4 separate regions of the Homo sapiens genome follow, and all the other regions are linked to region 4. Evidence: promoter capture Hi-C in 16 types of primary human blood cells and fetal thymus (Javierre and others, 2016). All regions are on one chromosome and are shown on one strand. The core of a region is centred on a gene start or on the middle of the fragment in contact, and the rest is flanking DNA. Distances in the headings are between cores, read along the strand shown.

The links. The method cuts DNA at HindIII sites, captures the fragments that hold promoters and counts their contacts. A CHiCAGO score of 5 or more calls a contact.
Region 1: a fragment that was not itself captured here is called in contact with the fragment with the promoter of SEM1 in region 4 in 1 of 17 cell types (endothelial precursors); the score reaches 5.8 in endothelial precursors.
Region 2: a contact is called between a fragment that was not itself captured here and the fragment with the promoter of SEM1 in region 4, in 1 of 17 cell types (endothelial precursors). The highest score is 6.2, in endothelial precursors.
Region 3: the fragment with the promoter of DYNC1I1 here is called in contact with the fragment with the promoter of SEM1 in region 4 in 3 of 17 cell types (neutrophils, endothelial precursors and megakaryocytes); the score reaches 8.7 in neutrophils.

Annotation. Positions count from the first base shown.
Region 1 is chr7:96,170,071-96,172,770 of GRCh38, reverse strand. SLC25A13 (solute carrier family 25 member 13) reads left to right here. Exons shown (of 18, transcript NM_014251.3): 12 at 1,247-1,299; 13 at 2,646-2,700. Among named protein-coding and RNA genes, the nearest start is that of MIR591, 48 kb to the left of the region's middle. The HindIII fragment of the contact is 3,804 bases long and covers 1-2,700 here.
Region 2 is chr7:96,125,975-96,128,674 of GRCh38, reverse strand. The region is part of intron 15 of SLC25A13 (solute carrier family 25 member 13); the gene reads left to right. It also overlaps the pseudogene CYCSP18. Among named protein-coding and RNA genes, the nearest start is that of MIR591, 92 kb to the left of the region's middle. The HindIII fragment of the contact is 931 bases long and covers 845-1,775 here.
Region 3 is chr7:95,771,116-95,773,815 of GRCh38, reverse strand. It overlaps DYNC1I1 (dynein cytoplasmic 1 intermediate chain 1), which reads right to left and starts at 1,262. Exons shown (of 17, transcript NM_001135556.2): 1 at 1,043-1,262. The HindIII fragment of the contact is 2,753 bases long and covers 1-2,096 here.
Region 4 is chr7:96,708,591-96,711,290 of GRCh38, reverse strand. It overlaps SEM1 (SEM1 26S proteasome subunit), which reads left to right and starts at 1,445. Exons shown (of 3, transcript NM_006304.2): 1 at 1,445-1,603. The coding sequence starts at 1,528. RefSeq lists enhancers at 1,171-1,260, 1,431-1,630. The HindIII fragment of the contact is 9,533 bases long and covers 1-2,700 here.

The DNA of each region.
Region 1 (2,700 bases), core at 15-2,514, 540 kb after region 4:
AAATACAAACTGGCGCTTGTCCTCATTGAGGTACGGGCCTCAAAGCAGGGTGGGCACCACCTTGCATGGTTTCTGTCTGAAGGATGGAGCCTCATGCAATAGAGCAGATGGCTGGGATGTCAGAAAGAGGCCCGGGGTCAGTCAGAGTTCGGTCAGAACTGAGCCCATGAACTGACTGTTAGGTCAGTGTGTTCATTGATCTTTTTTTTTTTTTGAGGCAGAGTCTCGCTCCATTGCCGGGCTGGAGTGCAGTGGTGCAATCTCGGCTCACTGCAACCTCCACCTCCTGGGTTCAAGCAATTCTCCTGTCTTGGCCTCCCAACTAGCTGGGACTACAGGTGCCTGCCACCACACCCAGCTAATTTTTGTATTTTTAGTAGAGACAGGGTTTCACCTTGTTGGTCAGGCTGGTCTCGAACTCCTGACCTCAGATGATCCACCCTCCTCAGCCTCCCAAAGTGTTGGGATTACAGGCATAAGCCACCGTGCCTGGCCTCATTGATCTTTCTTACAAGGAGGTCAGATTATGTTTGAAACTTTTTGTTACTCAATAAAACACACTTATAGGTTGGATACATATGGCATTCAAGCTAGTGACCTCTCAGGCTGCTCCTTTAGGAAGAGAGTGTGGGCAGGGCTGGTCCCTCAGAAGAGGCTGTGAGTGGACTTTCTTACATAGATAAATTAGAAAATTGTACTTCCAATGAAGAATATTACCATGAACCTCTCTCAGTATGACACAGGGTGCAACATGCTCCTACCTTCAGGGTTAGCTTGGTGTGTGTTTCCAAGAAAAAACAACTGTGATTTAATTTTTTTTTCTTTAAGAAGAACAAATGAAAATGATGACATTTTTTAGTTCAGATACGTAGCTCCACTAAATGTTCTAACTGCCTTCCCCAAAATTGGTCCTTGTTTTAGAAAATCAAGTGGTCCACTGATTTAGAAGGCAGAAGGGAAGGAGCAGACTTTGGGGGAATAATGAGATTTCCTATATCACTAATACTGTTGATTTACCCAATGTGCAAACGATCCAGAATGTGAGATGGAATGTACTTGGGACTGATGCGGCTGTTAGAAGTTAGTACTTAAACATTCCATTTCAAATATTCTCATTAAGGGTAATAGCAGAAAATTGCAGCAGAGATTAAGCAGTTTTTAAGTGGTAATCCCCTCTGTAGAACTGTTGATTTGTTTAGTTAATGCTAATTTATTTAATATACTTCTACTTTTTGTTGATTTTTAGGTCTGTTGCCACAGTTATTGGGAGTTGCCCCAGAGAAGGCCATAAAACTTACAGTAAGTCTTTTGAGTTGGTGCTTCTTATTAAGGGATTTTGTACATACTCAAGAATCTAGCAGGTATTCTTATAGGAAACAGCAGGTTTGTTTTCTCAGAGGTGCTAGCTAATTTGAAAGCAGGGGAACTCACCACACACATTTTTTCATTATTCTCCATTTAGCAGTGGACATCCAAAAATGTGATAATAAACTTGAGGACTTTTGGTGGTTGCTGCCATCATTGTTGTCATCACAGCAGTAGCAGCTAAATTCCCTTCAGTATCTACCATATTAGGCACATGACGTATATTACGTTTTACTGGTTTAATCTCAAGCAAAGCATGATCCACAGTTTACGGATAAGGAAACTGAGGCCTATCGGGCTTAAGTAGCATACCTGTGTTCACACAAATCATGAGTGGGAGAACTAGAATTTAAAATCACACTTGTCTGACTCCAGAGCATGTCTTTCTATTACACCTGCTGTTTTTATAGGATTCATGGTTAGGGTGTGTTCTATAAAGCCAAATGTGCAGGGATCTGGGTTCTAGTTGAAGTTGATCCTTTATCAGATTATTTGCCCAGTGCTTGGCTCACATTTGACAGATGGTTGATATTCAGTTTAAGCGTTTGTGGAATATACAAATATTTGCATCACTAAGGCCACAAAGCCCCAGAAAGTAAAACTCTAGCTTTAGGTTGGGCTGCGTAGCTTTGGAGCCTGAAATTCTTCTTTTACCATTTTGTTATGTGACCTTGAGATAGCTAATCTTCTCTGGCCTATGTCTGCCAAAAAGATATGACTGTTTCTTAAAATTTCTTGTACTACATACCATTTTGAGAATATTATATTAATTAATTAATGTAATTTATGTTCTTTGAGAATCCTTGAGGAATTTTTAGATATTGAATTTCTTCTAAGCTGAAAAAGTCTGCTCAGCCAAATTTATCTCCATGATGAGTACTGTTTTAGATTAATTCTTGTTAGAAGACTTGAAAGTGATTTTTAATCAAGCCTTATAAAACAGTTTTAAGTTGTAAGATGTATGTTTTTATTTTGTCACTATTGTCAGTGTGTCTCCCTTCTTAAGCTATTCTAATTGCAGAACATATTTTTGGCTTTCATTTATCTTTTAACTTTTCTCCTGAAACATCAGTGATGCATATATATTTTTCATTTTTTAAAACTATTATACTATTAAGAGTACTTCTCAAACTATTTTAAGATCTGTTAAATTGTGCAATTTATGATTACTCCAATAGACTGATAGAAAAAAATAGCATATATTGACAGATGCATATTTATAAGTGTTTAATGACTTTCTTTATATTTTTCATCAGCTTCTATAAATATTTTTCTTCAAGGTGAACGATTTTGTGAGGGATAAATTTATGCACAAAGATGGTTCGGTCCCACTTG
Region 2 (2,700 bases), core at 61-2,560, 580 kb after region 4:
CCCATCAAGCCATCATCTAGGTTTTAAGCCCCGCATGCATTAGGTATTTGTCCTAAAGAGCATTGACTTTCCTATTATTATCCACCTTCCTCCTGATCCCCCGTTTCTGGTAAAATGGGAAAATACCGAGTTTGCCCTGTTGATTTTAGTCTTCAAAGAGTGAATAAGCTACAAAGCTTGATGGTCTTTGTGTATTCTACAAAACTATAAAAACTGTGTAATGCGAAGTAAGCTACTTTCTTAATTTAATAACAGATATCAGAAGCCAGTGGTCAATGTCATAGTTACCATTCCAATTAAAGTTAGGAATAAGACAAGGATGTCTCTCTCATCTTTGTTATTCAGCCATATTTTGGAGGTTCCAGTCAGCATGGTAAAATAAAGTAAAAGGCATAAATAAAAGAAGAAAGGAAGCAGTCATTATTTATAAATGATTATTTACCTGAAAATCAAAATTAAAATGTCTAAGAAGTATATTAGAATTAGGAAAAAAGATTAGTAATGCATTTTGTTATAAAATAAACATAAAAAATCTATATCCAGTGAGCAGGAGTGATGTCATGGGGTGAGCAGGGCTGAGTGTGGAACCTTGCTGAGATGCTCAGGCAGAGCTGAGTTCAGTGTGGAGAAGGGCAAGACTTTTGTCAGAAGTGTGCCCCGTGCAACCCCAAGAAGGGCAGTGAGCAAGCACAAATGTGCACTAATCCTGAATGGGCTGTTGGGTGGAGGACGGATCAGGCCCCCACATTCCCTTTGTGGTTGCCAAGAAGAGCAAAGGCATTTCTTAGGGAGAGGATACATGGTATTCAGAGAATCCCAGAAAGTATTTAATAGGAGAAAAGCTTCTTTCAAAATACAAAAATCCTCCTTTTTAGATGGAGTTTCAGGCAACTACAATGAATAATTGTTGGCCTCTAACTTATAAAACAAAAATGTCTCATGGCTATTTTTATATGTACCATATTTAAATTGATCACTTATACATAAAATATTTTTTGCTGAACATCAGCCTATTATAAATAATATGGACCTGTGATTAAATGAATATGACCACGCTTTCTATGTTTAGATAATAATTTCAATTATTCAGTAATGTTATCTCACTGTTTTCTTTCCAAAAATTTGATTAGCCTTGAGGTTAGATTGTTTTAGTAATATGTAGCTTTTTAGCAAAAGTGGTTATTGGTATCCTCACCTAGAGAATGTTGGGTTTTGGTGTTTTTGTTTTTGTTTTGTTCATGTATCTAGTTATAAACTGGGACTATATTTAAATACTGGAACATCTACTCCGTTATTTCACAAGATAGAACAAGACTAACCAATATTTGAATTCATGTTCATTGGCCAAAGTACATCAGCTTTGTCAGAAAGTGAAGACCGAAGCGGGGGTCCTGAAATTAAGAAATCAAATTCTAATTATCTATAATTAACATGGTGCTTTATCATTAATGAAGGGCATTTCAATACACCTTGTGAATGATATCAAATAAAATATATCTAATACTCAAATTTTATAGAATGCTCTATCATACCAGATGATTTTTATCAGAGTGATAAGATAGAGGAACAAGTCAAACTGTAATGATGGTCTCACCTTTGAATTAATTAGCTTGAGATTAAGTTGTAATACAGAAATACCTTTAAAAGCTGTTCCAGTACACAGAAGTGGAAGTGTGTTATACATGTGTGATCATGATGCTTTTGCAAACATTAGATTGTGTATTATGAGAAAACTACTGTTGGTACAAATTTGTTAATTATGTGGACATAAAGCTTAAGTTATAATAGTTTAAAACCAGTCCTTAAACCCTTAAAAAAAGTAATGAAGAAATTGAATCAAGACAATAGACTGAGCATATTCATCCATCTCTCCTGTCTTCCCAAATACCTTAAAATGTCAGGAAATGCATTTTTAAAAAATTCTTTATTGGCACTAGAAAATGCTAATCTGGCCCTCAGCAGAAAGGAAATAGCCATATTGACTCTGAAACTGGACTGAGAGATGCCCCAGTCCAAAACACAGCAGGAGAAACTACCTCTAATGCAAGGGCTGAACTGGAGAATGTTAACCTTTGAGTGAAGAATAGAATGCCTGGGGTGGAGGTGGAGGTTTTAGGGTAAATCATTAACATGAGTTAGGCAACTATACTTTCTTCAGGATTGCCAGGCTTGGAGCTCTCTCCTGGTTTTCATATGGAGCTTCAGGAGACAGTTGTATCCAAGTTAAAAGCTCAGAGCTCAATTTTAAAGAAAGAGACCACTTCCCTAGAGAGGATAAGTGTAAGGAATGGACAGAAAGTAGGGCAGGACTTAAGGTAATTCAAGACTTCTACCACAGATGCAGGAAAAAATAAAGTGATGGCAGCTTTTCCCAAGAAGAATTAAGGATTTAAAATAAATTCTTCTACCCCCAAAGTGAAGTTCCCTACATTTCAGCAGTTCGGAGGGTCCACACCCTGCCAGCATATCCTAACCCCTTGCACCCAGTTACACAAAGCCCATAGACCCTCCCATTCAGGAGAGAGACCTGTGGGTGAAGCATACCTAGAATATGGTAGAAGTCACCCACAACATTTGTATATAATACTAATCAGCCTATCCTTTGAACTTGAATAATATCAATAGACAACCAGAGATCCCCAGCCATGAAGGAGCAACAAAGTAAGTGAACAGAAGAATTAGAGAGAAAACAGGCAATTC
Region 3 (2,700 bases), core at 13-2,512, 940 kb after region 4:
ATCAGGCGTTGGGTTGTCACCTGCAGTTGCCTATGCCTTACTGTTAGCTATACTTTTTGCTAATCTGGAATATTTGGAAGCAATTCTTCACAACTCTGAACTACAATAAGTCTACAATGCCCACTTGAAAGGCATTCCAAGCAAGAAAATGGCTGGCTACTTGTTCCTGCCCCTTACCTAGGATTAGTAGAGGCCAGAATAGCGAATATATTCCATCTTCTGCATGTTGTTGAGTCTCTGATCTCCTATGTAATTTCCTGTCCTGATCCTGGGCTTCTGTTTAATCTTATTAGCCAAGGTACAAGTCATGAGACTCCCGCACACTCAGTTCCCATCAGCGCTGCCAGGATCACTGCCCTTATGATGACGACGCACGGATTTATAAGGCCAGAGCGATTCCGAATGGGAGCGGGGGAAGGAGAGCCAGGCGGCCGTGAAGGTGTTTACCAAAACAACATCCCCCAGCCACACTTTTTCGCAGCAGAGAGAAACTGGCATCTTCTCGCTTTGAAGTGTTTAATTAATGCCCTGCTGGAAGTGAATTCGCTCCCTCCGACTTGCAGGGTAGTGACAGCATCTAAGAGCTTTGCAGACAGCTCGAAATGTAATCAAACAGCATCCTTTCCCCTCCCTCTGCAGCTTTCCCCCTCCTCCAGGGGCAGTCAGCCGGTGGCCCAGAGGGGTGCAGATTTCAGCGCCGCTCGCCCACTGCTCCCCCGGGGAAGACCGAGGCGGGGCGCACTGGGACGCCCTTCCCAGCCCACAAGGTGGGCGACCAGGTGGTGACACCACGACCCTTCCTTCTCTGCCCTAGTCTCTCGGCTCTGCCGAGAGGGGGGTGTCACTGGGGGGCTTTGGCCGCCTTCGGGCTCAGCGGAGCACGCAGGAGCCTGGGCAGGGGGCCAGGACAAGGGTCCGGCTGCGGCTGCAGGGGCCTCGGCTCCAGCCTGGTTCCCAGCGCAGACGACACCGGGGTGGGGAGGGTTGGGGAGAGGTGCGGAGGCGGCCGTCCGGGGAGCGGCGACATCCCGCTCCAGTTTACCTGGACGCGCTCGGCAGCGGCGGAACTGGGCTCCCCGAGCCGGCGGCGGCTCCTGGGCGGCGGCAGCGTTGGTGCAGGCGGCTCCCGAAGGTGGCGGGGCCGGCGCGGGCAGGATGTGCTGTCTCACGCTGCGCCGGCCGCTCGGCTCGCGCTCCTCCGGGAGCGATCACTTCCTCTCTCCCAGAGCCTGACACTGACAGCTCCCCGGAGCACTCAGTCTGCGGGGCTCGCCCCGCCCCCTGCCCACGCCCTCCACGCCCGCGCCCCTCCTGAGGGAGGGCCTCCGCTCCGCGTCTTCCGCGCCCGGTCTCGCCAGGAGGGGGTGGCGCCGCTCCGTAGGCTGGTGGCGAGCAGAGGACCTGGAAAGGTCAATTCGTCTATCCCTCTAACGTCGGTAGGACTTAGACCTCAGTTGCTGCAAAGAGAAGAGCTTCAATATTCTGGGAGCTCCTGCTGAAATGCCACCATTGAACAACTTTCACTCCCAGGCAACTACACTTCTTAAGGTCATTTAAATAGAAATAAAGCTCAGATCTACCTGTTGTACACAATGACTTATAGGTCTGATTGATCCCAATTTTTCTAGAAGAAAAAAGAATTAAGTGTGTGTGTCTGTGTGTGTGTGTGTGTGTGTGTGTGTGTGTGTGGTGTGGTGTGTGTGTAGCTTGTCTTCACATTGCTTCTTAAAGTCCCAGCTTTTAAAAATCTGGGTAACTGGCCAGACGCGGTGGCTCACGCCTGTAATCCAAGCACTTTGGGAGGCCGAGGAGGGCGGATCACCTGAGGTCGAGAGTTGGGGGACCAGCCTGACCAACATGAAAAAACCCCGTCTCTACTAAAAATACAAAATTAGCCGGGCGTGGTGGTGCATGCCAGTAATCCCAGCTACTCGGGAGGCTAAGGCAGGAGAATGGTTGAACCCGGGAGGCGGAGGTTGTGGTGAACCGAGATCCCGCCACTGCACTCAAAGCCTGGGCAACAAGAGCGAAACTCCGTCTCGGGGAAACAAAAAAAAATCTGGGTAACTATTATTGGACTCTGCAAAAAACAAGCTTGCCACAACAGCTAAGTTATAAGGCCAAAAAATTGAGTTTGGGATGTTAGGGGGTTTGGTATCATTTTATAGATGAGCTTTTCATCATATTTCTTGCACATCTGTGGTGTATTTTTACACATTAGAATGTAAATTAGTGGAGGGCAGGGACGCTATCTTGTTCACTGCTGTATTCTTAGTATCTAGAACAGCATTCTGATATATAATGGGTACTCAGTAAATATTTATGAACTTATTAATTCACAAGTACTACAGTAATTTCAAAATAAATACAGATTCTAGTATGAATACAGTATGAATACATACTCATCTGTAAATGGCCATCCTTATTCTAAAACTTTGGCCTCCCTGGCTAATCTACTGCGATTGTAACTATGGCTAGAAATGAAGAGGTTAAATGTCTAGGTAGAAGGTATTCAAGGTATTCCAGAAGGAAAAATCTAGGAAATAAATATTTGCCACTACCGTGACTGAATATTTAATACATGTCAATTCTACATACATTTTTCTTTAACTTTTCTATAACATTATGTAGTACATATAACGAATGCCATGCCTCCAGAAAAGGAACTTGAGTCAAAGAAGTTAACTCCCTTGCCCAAGT
Region 4 (2,700 bases), core at 196-2,695:
GGGGAAAAAATCACCATATTGCTGTTGATTTTTTTCTTTTGCTAAGGATTGATACAAACTTCATCATATATCAAATGAAATAAATAATAGGTCCAGGAACTAAAATTTGGGTTTTCTGATTCCTTGGCAAAATCTTTTTTTTTTTACCTTCTTTAAAAAATTATTTTAATTGACAAATAAAAATTGCCTATATTTGGGAGCACATGTTTTAAAATACAAATACATTGTATAATGACTAAATCACACTAAATAAGATATGCATTACCTGACATAATTTTTTTGGTAGTGAGATACCATTATTTTCAGTAATCTATATAAATCAAATAGTATAAGAGATACATTTTTTAAAAATTTCATCTAATTGTAGTTCTTGGCCAAGTTTGTTCTACATTTAGTTATTCAATTTTCTGTATTCCCAAACACTCTGTTCATTTCTCACTAATATTAAGATGCAGATTCAAGTGGATTACTGTGTTTCATTGTGATTTATCTGTTTACATGTCTCTGAGCAGCATATAAGCTCCTTGAAGAAAGGGACCTTGTCTATACATGTTTGATGCACAGCTCCTGGTAAGCGGTATGACCTTACATTGTTGAATAAAGGAATGGCATTTATAGATATAATCTGGAACATGTATCAACATTTACAATAATACTCAATTTGTGTACGTATATTCCATAATATTCATCCATATACATCCATATATTATATATAGAGTTCCATGAAGTTCACTACTGTATTCAAAATGATATTCAAATGCTATTCAAACAATTCTAAATGATATATTTTGAACACCATAAAATGTTACACAAATCCATAAATAGCATTACTGTATAATAACCTGTAAACCAGAGTTACTACACACACATACACACCACACAAATTCTATTTAAAAAGCTATTTTACCACAAAGTAATTCTAAGACCTTATAAACACTGCCTAATGGAAAAGTCTGGAGATTGGAGCCAGGCAAAAAAATCTGCATTTCGGTTGTCTAGAACTACCTGAGTGACTTCGGCTGCTTCCTACCGAACCTGAATTTTCTGTGATGTGGAGACATTTAATACCACCTTTAGGGAACTGGCTTAAGGACTGGAGGTAATAACGTATGTGAAGGGCTGATGAATGTTTGCAGTCACACTGTAGTCTCTCTAGAGTTCCTTCCTCGGTTGCAAACTAAGGGTTTTTTTGTTTGTTTGTTTTACACATTATGAGTCTCTTATAGTCAGGAAAACTACACGGATCTCAACTTTGGCAATACAGAGAGTCCGAATAACAAGGTAGAGACCAAAAAAAAAAAAAAAAAAAAATCACCTCTACAACTCGGAAAAAGCGCTAACCCCGCAGGAAGCGCTGGGCCGACCTCCAGTATCCCAGCATTCCTCGCGCTGCTCCCGTATTCTTTCCCCAAGTCTCTATGGTAGCGTCAGCGTCGGAGGCGGTAGTGACGGTGGCGTTTCCTTGAGGAAGAGTGAGGGTTCCAACTTTTCTGCTTATCTGGGAGGTGTTGGGCGCGGACAGTCGAGATGTCAGAGAAAAAGCAGCCGGTAGACTTAGGTCTGTTAGAGGAAGACGACGAGTTTGAAGAGTTCCCTGCCGAAGGTAACCGCTGGGCCCCGGTTTCTGTGTCGCGCGAACGGTGACTCAGGCCTCCGTGTGGAGGTAGCTTGGGTGCTCGGGCCCAGCTGGGGGCACCGGCGGGAAGTTTGGACTCCCAGGGCCGGCACTCGAGGCGCTAACGCTCACCCCTCAGTGGCGCCCCAGATTCGGGTTTGGGGTGTTGCGCTGGGACTCACTGGTGAGGCCCAATGGCTTCGGCTTCCTCACTGGGAGGAGCCACCGTGAGTCTGGACCCATAGCCCCGCGTCTGTGATGGTTGGTCCATTTACTGTTCACCTGGGTTACTCACCACTTAAACTTAGTTCAAGTCTACATAACCTCCTTTTCTTTTTGTTTTAGCAGTCTTTCTTTGTCTTTAAACCTTTCCAGAATTGAATTGTCAGTAGTTACGCCAATGCTGCTTAACTTTTAGGATGTTACAAATGAAGCCTCATTAAGTAGGATAGGAGGGTAAGATACGGGGTGCTTAATACACATTATTGCCTCATTCCTGTTCCTCACCATTTTGATCACTTAACTGTGACCTAACTTAATGCTTTATAAGACCCTAAAACTTGCCGGGTGTGGTGGCTCACGCCTGTAATCGCAGCAGTTTGGGAGGAAGAGGCAGGAGGATCACATAAGGTCAGGAGTTCAAGACCAGCCTGGGCAACATAGCGAGACCCTGTCCCTACAAAAATAAAATATTTTTTTAAAAGAACCTAAACCTTACACATTTTTTTTTTTAGCTTCAAAACTAAAGACCTGGTTTTTTCATTGTAGATAATAGCAAATTGCTAACATTTATTGAGTGGCTGTTGTTTTCAGGAACTTGTCTAAGTGCTTTACTTGTAATAGCATATTCCACTTTCATAAATATAAGAAGTAGGCCTCAGTATTGCCATTCTTCAGATAAACTGAAGCTCGGAATGGTTAAGAAACCTTCTGATGTCTCATAACTAGTTAGAAATAATAGAACTGGAACTGGGAAACCTGGCCTGATTGACACCAAAGCTCTTAACTTCAGCTGTACTGCTTCTGTTTGTGAGATTGCTGTTGCCAGTTAGGTTTTCAAAATAGGCTGCTTTATTGGCTGATGG